3 separate regions of the Homo sapiens genome follow, and regions 2 and 3 are each linked to region 1. Evidence: promoter capture Hi-C in 16 types of primary human blood cells and fetal thymus (Javierre and others, 2016). All regions are on one chromosome and are shown on one strand. The core of a region is centred on a gene start or on the middle of the fragment in contact, and the rest is flanking DNA. Distances in the headings are between cores, read along the strand shown.

The links. Contacts are between HindIII fragments. The CHiCAGO score rates a contact against its expected background, and 5 or more counts as called.
Region 2: a contact is called between a fragment that was not itself captured here and the fragment with the promoter of KIRREL2 in region 1, in 1 of 17 cell types (M1 macrophages). The highest score is 6.0, in M1 macrophages.
Region 3: a fragment that was not itself captured here is called in contact with the fragment with the promoter of KIRREL2 in region 1 in 1 of 17 cell types (erythroblasts); the score reaches 5.2 in erythroblasts.

What each region holds. Positions count from the first base shown.
Region 1 is chr19:35,854,402-35,858,879 of GRCh38, reverse strand. KIRREL2 (kirre like nephrin family adhesion molecule 2) reads right to left here and starts at 1,969. Exons shown (of 15, transcript NM_199180.4): 1 at 1,700-1,969; 2 at 1,386-1,535; 3 at 323-472; 4 at 16-176. The coding sequence starts at 1,760. The HindIII fragment of the contact is 4,263 bases long and covers 1-3,909 here.
Region 2 is chr19:35,084,209-35,088,686 of GRCh38, reverse strand. HPN-AS1 (HPN antisense RNA 1) reads left to right here. Exons shown (of 4, transcript NR_024562.1): 3 at 1,587-1,731. It also overlaps the pseudogene LOC100420797. Among named protein-coding and RNA genes, the nearest start is that of HPN-AS1, 20 kb to the left of the region's middle. RefSeq lists enhancers at 2,199-2,308, 2,419-2,468, 3,755-4,478. The HindIII fragment of the contact is 229 bases long and covers 2,439-2,667 here.
Region 3 is chr19:35,287,721-35,292,198 of GRCh38, reverse strand. It overlaps MAG (myelin associated glycoprotein), which reads right to left and starts at 38. Exons shown (of 11, transcript NM_002361.4): 1 at 1-38. The HindIII fragment of the contact is 2,086 bases long and covers 768-2,853 here.

The sequences.
Region 1 (4,478 bases), core at 720-3,219:
GAATTTGGACCTGACCTGATGGAAGGTGGCTCCATCCAACAGGACCCCATCTCGGAACCACAGCAATTCAGGGGTAGGGCGGGCATCCCCACGGCTCCGACATGTCAGGTTCGCAGGAACTCCAGCAACCAGAGACACAGAGGGGCCGCCCAGCACCTGGGGGGCTTCTGGGGGGACTGCAAGGTGGATTTGGGGTCAGAGATGGATCCTGATCTTCTCAGCTCCAATTGACCATGCCCCTGGGCTCCCTGGGCTCTGCTACTCACAGCTAGTACGGGCTGCCCTCTTGGGCTCCCAGGGGACAAGTGGGCGAGGTCCTTACCCAGCACGTGCAGTTGGGCTGGTCTGGAGCGGAGGCCTGCTTGTGTAGCCTGACATTCATATGATGCTTCATCCTCTAGCTCCACGGGCCTAATGTGGAGGTCATGCTGGCCATTGGCTGCATTCCCTGATATCCAGTACCGGGACCACCCTGGAGTCAGGGAGAAGGCAGTCAGCACACCATGGTTCTGAAATCCTGGCCTCAGGCCTCCATCCCCAGACATCCTCCACCAGAAAACTGGCCCACACATTTGGTGGTAAGACACTATTAAAAAGTGTGTACTGGGCCCAGAGAGACTCTAACTCCCTCCCAACCCAGAGTCACTGCAAACTTAGGGGTAATAAAGTCAGGAAGGAAAGCAAGAAAATGATTGCCATAAAAATTAGGTTAGATACTACTTCTGGAGTGAGGGGGAGGGGGCTATGATAGGGGAAAGGAACACGGGGTCTTCTGGGGAGCTAGCAATGGACTTGGGTATTGGCTGTGTGTGTCTATTTTATTTGGTAAATCTTCCATTTATATTTACTGTACTTTTTTGCATTTATGTTCTCTTTTTTTTTTTTTTTTGAGACAGGGTCTCACCATTGCCTGAAGTGCAGTGGCTTGATCATGGCTCACTGCAGCCTTGAACTCCTAGGCTCAAGCAATCCTACCACCTAAGCCTCCTGAGTAACTGGGACTATAGATGCACACCACCATACCCGGCTAATTTGTTTAAAATATATATATACATTTGTGTAGAGATAAGGTCTTGTTATGTTGCCCAGGCTGGTCTCAAACTCCTGGTTTCAAGCGATCCTCTGGCCTCAACCTCCCAAAGCGTTGGGATTACAGGCGTGAGCCACTGCACCTGGCCTATGTACTATTTTGCAATAACATAATAATTCCCAAACTCCGTGGGTCACCCCCAAAGAAGCAGCTCAAAAATCAGGACTCCTAAATGTTTACCCGAGCCCATCAATTTCCCAAACTTGAAAATGTCAAAATAGAAACTGCAGGTACAGCCGAGCCCAGCAACTCTCCCCCTAGCCAGCCCGTCCCAGCGTGGAGAGAACACTCTTACCTGGTAGGTCCCTTTGGCCCCCTAGGGCCAGCCCACTCTTAGTCCACTGAACTAGCCCCCAGTAGGCGCCCAGAGCACACGGCAGCCGGGCTTCCTCCCCCAGCAGCACCACCAGGTCCTCTGGCTGTTGCAGGAAATGGGGCGACGGGCCTAGGAGAGTTCGGGGCAGCAGGGCTGAGCTTAGCACCTTCAGGGGCCTCCTCATTCAGGACCCAGGAGTCCCAGCCCCCAGCTCCCTTCTCGCTAGTGAAGAGGCAGCCCGCAAGCAACTCCCCACCCCCACCCCATATTCCTCCGCTCCCCTCGTGCGGTACCTGCTCTCCCTCTGAAGCAGAAGAGGAGGACGAGGAGGGCGGGGACCCGCATCCTGAGCATTCGTCCCCCAAGGTTCACGAGATTTGCCGTCGCACTGGCCTTCCCGTCAACTTCTTCCTCTCAAGCACGCCTCCTGTCACCCTGGCCCGGAGCCCCCTTCACGCTCGACTCTTCGCCCAGCCTAGTCTCTGGCCTGGAGTCCTCCAAGTCTGCTCATCCGCAGCCTCTGACGCTCTGAAACGCCTGCCAGTTCCGCGGCCTGGGTCTCTGGGAGACCCCAAGAGGGCCCGATCCCGCTCGCCCCGCCCGGGTCCGCCCCCCGGGAGCTCCGCCCTCTTCCCGTTGAGAAACTCCCGCGGCTGAGACGCGGATGAATGGGGGACGCAGGGCGGGATCCCCCGGCGGGTGGGCGCCCCCAGCTCAATTGGGGTCTGGGAGCCGGAACACCTGGGTTCGAGGAGGGAGGGGGTCCCGGCTGGGTTGGACACCTGCGCCCTGCCGGGGTTGAGGGGCAGGCAAGGGGTGAGGAGGAGGGAAGGGAGAGAGTGGAAGAAACTTGCTCAGCCCAGGTCCTAGAGGGACTGCGCTCAGTGGAAACTGAGCTATAAATGGGAGCTCCTGGGGCCTCGCCAGTTTCCGCGCCCTGGGGGATGCGGGGTCCGGGGCTCCCCCGGGCCTGCGTGTCGGGAAGAGGGCACACCGATACCTGGGGGACAGTTGGGACCCCTACCTCGACTCCCCCAGCCTCAAAACCCCTCCTCAAAATATCCCTCTGTTCCCTTGTTATTGCTGCAAACTACAGCACGTCCTAAGACCCAGGAATCCAGGCCCTCGGCCCCTCCTTTCCCAGGACCCCGCAGTCCCAGCCCAACCCCTCTCCCCACTCGGCCGGCCGGGCCCCTCGGCCTGGTTGCCCGGCGACGGCTGGGAGGCGGCGGTGCCGGGCCGGGGCAGGCAGGGAGGCTGGGAACCGCGCAGCTTGTCCTGACGGCTCCATGCAGCCCAGCTGGGGCGTTCCCACGCTGCGCAGCTGGCCGAGCAGGTGGGAGGGACCCCGAGCAGCCTGAAGGAGGGCTGGGGGGCTGGGACCCTGATCTGACATTCCTGGACCTGTAAGAACTGGAGGGTCCACATTCAGATTCTCCACTGTTCTTAGGCTCAGACTCCGTGTCCCTAAATGGGGGAGTGGGGTTGGGAGTGGGGGTTGGACTTACAGGGTTATAAGGGACTGGTGGTTCAGGCCTTTGCTGGCTGAGACGCTGATGGCCTGATCTCCCGGTTCCTTGAGAGGCTGGAGACTCAAGGTGCACTCAAGTGCATGGTGCACTTGGAAGAGGGTGACAGGGGTCAGAATATCTGGTCTTAAGTCTTAAGAGTCGGTGGATCTATCTGCCAATCTCTCCCCACCCCCACACAGGCCCAGGAGGATTTGGAAATCAGACCGTGAACATCTGTCCTAAGTCCTGTGTGTATGTGTGTGTGTGTGTGTGTGTGTGTGTGTGTGTGTGTGTGTGTGTGTGTGTATGGGGAGGTGCGGGGGTGGGTAGTGTGGCCAGGAGGATCAGAGGCCCAAATTCCCGAGTCCTTGGAGAGAAGGGACTGAGACCCCAGGGTCTGAGAGGGGAGGGATCTGGGGGCCTACACTCCCGGCTTCTGTGTGGCTTATCTAGTGCCTGGATTTTGAAATAGGATGGACATGGGGCTGGAACTCCTGAGTCTTAGGGAGGAACTCAAGTCATGGGGCTGTTTTTCCAGGCACTTGACGCCGCTTCCCCTTCCTGGCTCTCTGGGGCTACGGACATGGAAAGATGGAGAGCCCAAGGTCCCAGGAGCATGCAGAGAAGGAAAACAGCCAAGGTGGAGGGTGGAAGGTTTGTGCTTATTAAAGGCCCCAGCAAGGGACAGCTCCACGCTCTGGCACCTAGGGACACCATCTGGCGAGGGCCCCCAGGACAGAGCCACTCCCCCAGCTCGGCATCCAGCCCATTTCCCAGGGGGTGTAGAGAGCAGTTGGGAGAGGGGAGGTGGGAGGAGGGCAAGGAGTCAAGCATGTGAGGGAAGATGGAAGTCCAGCATCGAGGATGAAGCTGGGGGCTGAGGCCAGATGCCTCATCTTGTTCCTGGGAACGATATTGGCGGGGGTCTTGGGGAGGTAGGGAGAAAACTAGCATTTCCAATTCCCGCAGGAGATAAGCAGGCAGAAGAAGCTTATCCCAGGCAAGTGTATGTGCACGCGGGGAGGGCAGGCCCACCAGCATATGGTTATAAAATCCAGGGATGTGATGAGCAGAGCCACTCGGAGATGGAGAGACACATAAGAGAAAGAGGCGTGGTCAGAGTGTGGCTGAGAACAAATATTTATGGAGCTCCTGGTGTGTGTGAGACAGACTGTGGGGTGAGGGGAGCGACAGAGGTGAGAACAGAGACAGAGAAACAGAATAACAGAGACATATAGAGATGGAGAGACACAGTGAAATAAAGATTGACTGAGATTTAACAACTTAATATAGAGAGCGAGAGAGTCTCAAACAGATGGAGAAAGATAGAAAGATAAATCAGCTGGGCACAATGACTCACGCCTGCAATCCCAGCACTTTGGGAGGCCGAGTCAGGCTGATCACCTGAGGTCAGGAGTTCGAGACCAGCCTGATCAACATGGAGAAACCCCGTCTTTACTAAAAATACAAAAAATTAGCCAGGCGTGGTGGCGCATGCCTGTAATCCCAGCTACTAGGGAGGCTGAGGCAGGAGAATCGCCTGAACCCGGGAGGCAGAGGT
Region 2 (4,478 bases), core at 1,304-3,803, 770 kb after region 1:
TGGCAGATGGCGGCATATGTCTGCAGGGCCAGGCAGAGGATGTGGTCATCATCCCCAGCAAGACACAAATCATCGACACAGCTGGAAACATATGGGTCTGGGTTGATCTCCCAGTGGCAGTGGCTGAAGGGTCCTGGGGGTCCTGCAGGAGCCAGCACTGCCTCCTGGCTGACACAATCTGCCCCTGGTCATTGCAGACTGAGACTGGACAGGCAGCCCCACAGCTGTCCCTACAAGCCTTGCTCTGCTTCTCCAAGGTAATGTCAGCCTTAGCGTCCTCACTGGGGTTGCAGTTGAAGTTGCCTCAGAGCCCACAGGTGTGACCCTTGTAGAGGTGGGGCAGGGTGAGGGTAAGGCTGTAGGTGAGATCTGTGCTGAGCCAGAGGCCAAAGTCTGACTGCAGCAGGGAGAAGAGGCCATTCCAGTGGACGGCAAGGCTGCCCCCATTCAGGCTTACGGGGAGGGCTGTTGTCTCACCATTCACCTAAGGAGCAGGCAGAATCAAAGGAAGGCTCGGGAGCATAGGACCACAGTTGGGTCAGTGTTGCTTGGCACATAGTAGGTGTTCAAATACGTGAAAAATGTTGATTTTTTTTGATATAGGGTCTCACTCTGACCCTCAGGCTGGATGCAGTGGCACAATCATGGCACACTGCAGCCATGAACTCCTGTGTTCATGCGATCTTCCCACCTCAGCCTCTTAAGTAGCTGGGACTATAAGCTGGGACTATAAGCGTGCGCCAACACACCCACCTAATTCTTTTTTAGATACGGGGTCTCGCTATATTGCCTGCTTGAGACAGGCTGGTCTTGAACTCCTGGGCTCAAGGGATCCACCTGCCTTGGCCTCCCAAAGTGTTAGGATTACAGATGTAAGCCACCGTACCAATACATGTAAAACATTTTTAGATGAAGGAACAAGGACATAACTATAATAGTGACCATCTCTTGTTTTATCCTGTTCTGCATTCATTTCTCCTTTCTCTGGATTTCCCTGAGAACTCACCCCTCCAAAATCAATCCATGTGGTTCACAGAAAGTCAATCCTATCCTAACTTCCAGCACATGACCCAGGCCCAGCCAATCAGCTAGTCCATCAGGGATTCAGGGGTGGTCACATGACTCAAGCTGGGCCAGTGAGGGACACTTTTCCTCCAGTGACATTTGCTAACCTGGCAGCTGTCCTTGTCCCTACAAGGTGGGATGGGATGGTGCCTGTCTGAAAATGAAGGAAAGGAGAGCCCAGAAATTGAGACAGATTTGAGACATATTGTTCAAGCACCTGGGTCCAGCTATGCCTGAATCCATACACCTGTAGATTTTTTTTTTCAATTGTGTAAATCAGTAATTCTTTTTTTTCTTAAGCTGGTCTGAGAGTGTTTCTGTTATATTAGCTGAATGCATCTGATGGATATAGTCAAAAATGGGCATATAATCAGAAAATAGAGGTAAAATGTAGAAATAATGGAGACAGAATAAGTTTTTCCCTTGGGCCTATGGGTTTGGGTGAAGGGTTGGGGTTCCTAGAAACGACACGTCCCAAAGCTGGTGCTTATCTGAGCCATGCCTGGGCTGTCCCTCCGCAGGTGGACCTGGGTCCCATTAACCTGGACAGACACCTCCAAGATGAGCATGAGGGGGCTGCTGGATCTGTTCTCCTTTCACAGCTGTATCCTGAAGAATGGCAGTGAGCCGGAAGAGCCACAGGATTCGGCAAAGACGGACACACAGGTACCTGAGAACTCAACAGTTTTCCCATCAAAGGTGATGATGTGTGAGTGCCCGGCTGCTTGGCAGGTGCCAGGGGAGAATGGGTGGCACCCAAAGATGCCCCTTAGGGTCCCACATCTCTGCCCTGGCCCACAGGAGGAGGGGGAGCAGCACACAGCATGGGTGGAAGCCTCGCAGTGGCAGAATTGCTCACAGTGCTCCCTAGCCCAGAATGGCTCCCCGGCCAGGTGGTATCTGCCCCCCATGGAGCAGCTGCACTGGATGGGGGTCAAGCAGTCCGTGCCACTGAGCACAAATCCTGGGTCACACTGGCAGCCATCCTGGCATGGTGTCAGACAGCTGTCGGGCAGGGCAGGCTCGGTGCAGGAGCTGGGACAGGAGAAGCCACACAGCTCGTAGTGGCTGTCGGGGGGCCAGGTCAGCTCTGGAGGAACACAAGTCATTCAATGCAAGGATGTCAACTCACTGCCCCACGTTCAAATTATGTTCCCTGCTATCTCCCCAGAGCCCAGCTCACGGCAAACCTCAATGGATATTTGTTGGAAGAATTAATGAATGTGTCGAAGCCTTTTCTATAGCACATATTTGTTCAACTTTGGCATCCACTACATGCCGGGAACATCCCAGGGCCTGGGGACACAGCAATGACCAAGACAGAGATCCCTGACCTCATAAAACAGATGTTCTAGGGCAGACGTTGACAAGCTTCACCCTTGGGCCCAAATCTGGCCCTCCACCTGTTTTGGCACAGCCTACAATCTAAATAGTCTTTACATGTTTAAGTGGTTAGAAAAAAAGAAACCAAAAGAGGAAATTTTGTGAGGTGTGAAAATCATGTAAAATTCAAATTCCGGTGTCTATAAATAATGTCTTCATGAAAGCCAGCTCGCCGGTTCGTGTATTGTCTATGACTGTTCTTATGTTACAACAGAAGCTTTGAGTAGTTGTGGCAGAGTGTGGCCCTGAAAGCCTAAAATATTTATTATCTGGCCTTTTATCATAAAAGTGTGCTGGCCTATTCTAGAGGGGGGAAATGGGCGACAAACTAGCAATAAATAAAAGATAATTTTGGATTGAGAAACTGGGTTAGATCTGTGTTACCCAGCTTTAGGTAGCGCAGAGTGGCTGAGCCCCATGGGCTGATTTGAGGACAGTGGCTAGGGAGGCCTCTCTGCAGAGGTGACATTGGAGCTGAGGCCTGAATGATGGAAGGAGCCAGCCGTGTGTACGTCTGGGAAAGAGCATTCCAGGCCGGGGGAACAGCAGATGCAAAGACCCAGGGGTGGGAAGGCATTTGGCGTGGTCCAGGGACAGCAGAGAGGCCAGTGTGGCTGGACCCTCGGTGTGGAGTGAGCTAGACAAAGCCAGTGTAGGAGGAGGCAGGGTGAGCAGAGAGAGGCCGCTGTGGGGGCCTCTTAGGAGGAGGCTTGGAGGTCAGTTTTCATCCCAGAGGTAAGGGGGACCCAGGGATGCTTTTAATCAGGAATCTGATGAGATCTGACCTATGCTTTTTCATTTTTTTTATGTTTTTGAGACAGAGTCTTGCTCTGTCACCCAGGCTGAAGTGCAGTGGCACCATCTTGGCTGACTGCAGCCTCCACCTCCACCTGGGTTCAAGCGATCCTCCCGCCTCAGCCAGTGCACACCACCACACCCAGCTAATTTTTTTTTTTTTTTTTTGTATTTTCAGTAGAGACAAGGTTTCACCATGTTGGTCAGGCTGGTCTTGAACTCCTGACCTCAAGTGATCCACCCACCTCGGCCTCCCAAAGTACTGGAATTACAGGTGTGAGCCACTGTGCCCAGCCCTAACCTATGCTTTTAAATGCCTTATGGTAGGTTCTGGTGACACACTGGTGACCAAGAGAGACCCCATCCCTAACCCTTGTCTTTGGGGGTTTCACAGATCAGGGGAAAAACATACTGGAGGAGAGATTGCTGGGGAGGGTTTTGTGTGTGTGTGTGTGTGTGTGTGTGTGTGTGCGCTGGCGGAGTGGGGGTGTCCCCCAGTCTCAGGATTAATAAAGAAAGTCAGAAAAGGAGAAATGTCCTGGGTGGGATGTGGGAGATATTCCAGCTCAAAGTTCATCTTAATTTGAGCACCCAGAGTCTGGGGGCTGGAGGAGACACCTGCACCCTTCCTGGATGGGTTTCCTGGATTCCTGCTGCCTGGAATGTCCCCCCGCCTCCCCGCTCCCCCAGCCAGCTCGGCTCCCTTTTCCACCACCTTCAGTCTCCACTCCCAGGGCACCTCTCTGCACCCCAGGGAACCCTAACCCCCCAGTTTAATACTGCATGCCCCTTCTCCAGCACTCCCCAGCCCTGCCCCGCCTGACTTACTGTTTAATCACCTACTTACTGGCTGGGTTGACTGATTGTCTTCTCCACTGGAATGTCGCCTCCATGAGGGCAAGGTTTTGTCTGTTTGGGTCACTGCTGTGTCTGCAGCGCCTAGAATGCTGCCTAGCACTTAGTGGGTGTTCAGTTAACCTTAGTCAAAGTGTGTGATGCCCCCGGGGCTTGTCTCTGGCTTTGGGAGGAGGGGTGGGCCAGGCAGGCCAGAGGCCAGAGCACCCACCACCAGTCCCTTGTGTTGGCCTTCGGAGCTTGCAATGGGCTGTTTCCTTTGGACAAAGAGAGGTTTTGTTTGCAAGATGCTGAACTTGCTTCCTGCTCTGAGAGGAGTGAGGGACTAGGGGCAGAGAAAAGGAGTTGCGCCTTGGGGTCCTGGAGGTTAGAGGCCCAGT
Region 3 (4,478 bases), core at 561-3,060, 570 kb after region 1:
TCAGTTGCTTCTGCACCTCTGCTCCGCCAGCCCAGCTCGCAGTCCCCTGCCTTCCAGGGTCTAGGCCCCCACTTGCCAGCCCCTCCCCTCCCCCTGGGTGCCAGGGGCCGCCTGCCTCCAGGGCCCAGCTCCTCCCTACCCCCGGGGGAGGGGGGCACAAAGGGGCCCTTGTCACCACGGGGCTCGGACTGGGCAGCCTGACGCCTGGGTTCTCCTAGCTCTTTCCTGGAGGGGTCGGGAGTGGCTGCCTTGCTCTCTCCCCATCTTCCATCCCTGTACACCCTGATTCTGGGTCCCGGGGGTGGGGGGGCAGTCTAATCTCTTTGGAAGTCCCAGGCTGAGGGACAGAGGCATTGTCCTCAGGGAATCTTGGTGGCAACATTAGGTGGGCAGCAGGAGGAGACAGGTCCTTTCCACCCTCAACGTCAGTGTCACCTCCTCTTGCCATCTGAAATGACCTTCCGTGTTCACCAACTCCTTTCATGAGAACGTGACCTCCACCAGGCCAGAAGCTTCGTCTTGGATATTCTCAATCCATCCTTGCTCGTAGACAAGCTCCTGGCAGGCAGTTGAGCTTAATAAACAGTGTGGGTGGTTGAATGTGTTCCCCAGAGCCCCAGGGCACCTTCAGACTCAAGGCCTGTGCACCTGCTGCTCATTCTTCCTGGAAAGCAGTCCCCACCCCATAGCACTCCCCACTCTGGCACTGGCTGCCGTTCACCCATCCTGTAGGCTCAGCAGCCTGGGTGCCGCTTCCCTGGGAAGCTTTCCCATCTTCGCCCATCAGCCAGGCCCCTCCATTGCAATGCTGTCCTTTCCTTCTGTAGCCTTGGCAGGCTGGCCCGTGTGCACCCTAGGTCTGCCCGCCTCTGCCTCCCACTAACCCAGGAGCTCTCAGAGGCAGGGGCTCACCAGAAACCTATCTGCCTCTCTGTCTGTCATGTGCACCCTTCTGTCCCCGGGGCAGTGCTTGGTGCACATAGGACTGTGCTGACCAAGTTGGGCAAGGACCCTCTGAGTGCAGATTCCACCCCTTGGTCATGACTTTTGCAAGGTGGGTGGGGGCTCGGGGCAGCTGGAGGTGGCGTGACAAAGTGCAGCAGTGATTTCACCATGAGCTGTTCAGCCTCACTGGGACATCTCCTGTCCTCCTTCAGGCCAGAGCAGTGGGGAGGGGGGGTCCTCGCTCTCAAGGGAGAACCCAGGGGGTGAGGGGCGGGGAAATCCCTCAGACCAGGGAGAGAAGCGTTGTGGGGCTGGGGGGGAGTTGGAGGGGGAGGGGGAGTCCCACCCCCACCCCAGGCTTCATGATGTCAGACTCTGCCCGTGCCTTTCCCAGTCCGGGACAAAGGACCATTGAGAGTCGGGCGGGGCTTGAATGCCTGGGTCCTGGAGAAGAGAGGGGCCTGGTGCCTGGGCTTTGGTGGTGGTGGTCGGGGTGACAAGGAGATCCTGGGGGGTATTTGCATGTCACAGCCTTCAGCATCAACACCCACCTAGTTGGAGCTGGAGTCGTGTGCTGGTGCAGTGTGGGGCTCCATCTCCTCCCTGGGTGTGAACTGAAGGCTGTTGCTGGGGAGAGGACAGTGTCCCACAGGAGCACTCGCAATAGTCGCTGACATCAGCAACTCGGGTCTCCAGGAGACCTGTGGGAGCGAGGCGGCTGGAGCCCATGAGAGGAAGGGGCTGGGTGACAGGACCTGTGACTGGCGGGCAGGTGCCCTGTCTAAGGGGACAACTGACCCGCAGATCCAGTGGCCGGTGCTGCCGTATCAGCTGATCTTTTACGAGAGAGCAGGTGTATCAGTTTTCCAGGGCTGTTACAACAAAGTTTCACAAACTGGGTGGCTTAAAAACCGGAATTGAGGCCATGCACGGTGGCTCACACCTGTACTCCCAGTGCTTTGGGAGGCCAAGGCGGGCAGATCACGAGGTCAGGAGATCGAGACCATCATGGCTAACACGGTGAAACCCTGTCTCTACTAAAAATACAAAAAATTAGCCGGGCATGGTGGCAGGCGCCTGTAGTCCCAGCTACTCAGGAGGCTGAGGCAGGAGAATGGCGTGAACCCGGGAGGCGGGGCTGGCAGTGAGCGGAGATTGCGCCACTGCACTCCAGGCTGGGCAACAGAGCAAGACTCCGACTCAAACAAACAAACAAACAAACAAACAAAAAACCCTGCCAGAATTGAGCTTGAATTCCAAGATCAACAAGATCAAGTGCTGGCAGTGTTGGTTCCTTCTGAGGGGTGTGAGGATCTGTTCCGGGCCTTTCTCTGTATGGCATCTTCATCTTCACATTCCCTTCCCCCTGTATTCACCCCTGCCCAGATTTGCCGTTTATTTATTTATTTATTTATTTATTTATTTATTTATTTATGTTTGAGACATAGTATTGCTTTGTCATTTAGGCTGGAATGCAGTGGTGCAATCATACCTTACTGCCACCTCCACCCTCCAGATTCAAGCGACTCTCTTGCTTCAGCCTCTCAATAGTAACTGGGACTACTGGCACTTTTTTTTTTTTTTTTTTTTTTGCTAGAGACAGGGTCTCACTATATTGCCCAGGCTGGTCTTGAATTCCTGATCTCAAGCAGTCCTCCTGTGTTGGCCTCCCAAACTGCTGGGATTACAGGTGTGAGTCACTGTACCCTGTCAGATTTAGGAAACCAGTTATATTGGATTAGGATTCTCCCGTCTCATTTTAACTTGATTACCTCTGTGAAGACCCTGCCTCCAACTAAGGTCACATTCTGAGCTACTAGGCGTTAGGACTTCAATGTGAGTTTTGAATTCCTAGCAGCAGGAATTCAGAATGAAGCTCTCGGCCATGGGGAGCTCTCACTTAAAGCTTAAAGCTCTCATAGATGGGAGCTGAGGCTCAATCCATCCAAGAGCCTTTGCTGCCCTCAGACAATGGTGTCAGCTTCACAACCAGTCCTCCACAGGACTGCAGCTTGCTCAAAATGCAAGGTCAAGGGCCCCGCCTTGCACCTGTGGAATCAGAAATTCTGGAGGCCCAGCTATCTGCAGTTTATTTGTTTATTTGTTTTACAGACATCGTCTCACTGTGTCACCCAGGCTGCAGTGCAGTGGTGCCATCATAGGTCACTGCAGCCTTGAATTCCTGGCCTCAAGTAATCCTCCCGTCTCAGCCTCGTAAACCACTGGGATTATAGGCATGCTCCACCACGCCCAGCCTCATCTGCATTTTATTTTTATTTATTTAATTTTTTTTGAGACAGAGTCTCATTCTGTCACCCAGGCTAGAGTGCAGTGGCAAGGTCTCAGCTCACCTCAGCTTCTGCCTCCCAGGTTCAAGCAATTCTCGTGCCTCAACCTCCCGAGTAGCTGGGACTACACGTGTGCACCACCACACCCAGCTAATTTTTGTATTTTTAGTAGAGACGGGCTTTCACCATGTTGGCCAGGCTGGTCTCGAACTCCTGGCTTCAAGTGATCCTCCAGCCTCAGCTTCCTAAAGTGCTGGGATTACAGGCTTGAGCCACTGAGCCTGGACCCATCTGCATTTTTGCAGGCCCTCCAGGAGATTTTGAGCACGCTGAAATTTGAGTATCTCTGCTTTACATGTTCTCCCATCTCTCTAGGACCACCCCAGAGAACTGCTTGCTCAGGAGAGAAGAGCACCCCGTGTCATTAAGTGTAATTCCTGATTTCAGGTTTCCCACCTGCCAGGAGGGAGGCCTCTACCCTCTCCTGTCAATATGAATCCTTTACATTGAGGAAGCATTGGACAGTTTCCAAAGCAATTTCACACTCATTCCCTTGGTTGAGCAGCTCTAGAGCCAGTTAAGCTAAGTCCTGTATGGACTTAGCTTCTGTTCCTTTTTTGTTTTTTTTTTTTTTTTTTGAGATGGAGTCTTGTTCTGTCACCCAGGCTGGAGTGCAGTGGCATGATCTTGGTTCACTGCAACCTCTGCTTCCTGGGTTCAAGCGATTCTCCTGCCTCAGCCTCCAGAGTAGCTGAGATTATAGGTGTGCGCCAACACGCCTGGCTAATTTTTGTATTTTCAGTAGAGACGGGGTTTCACCATGTTGGTCAGGCTGGTCTCAAACTCCTGACCTCAGGTGATCCACCCGCCTTGGCCTCCCAAAGTGCTGGGATTACAGCGTGAGCCACCACGCCCAGTGCCTCTGTTCTTTTAAAGGTAAGGAGAGGCCAGGCATGGTGGCTCACAACTGTAGTCCCAGCATTTTGGGAGGCTGAAGTGGGAGGATCATTTGAAGCCATGAGTTTGAGACCCGCCTGGGCAACACAGCCAGATCCACGTCTCTACACAAAATACAAAACTTTAGCGGGGCGTGGTGATAGGCACCTGCGGTCCCAGCTACTCAGGAGGCAGAGGTGGGAGGATCGCTTGAGCCCGGGAGATCAAGACTGCAGTGAGCCATGATCACACCACTGCACTTCAGCCTGGGCTATGGAGCAAGACCCAGACTAAAAAAATAAAATAAAA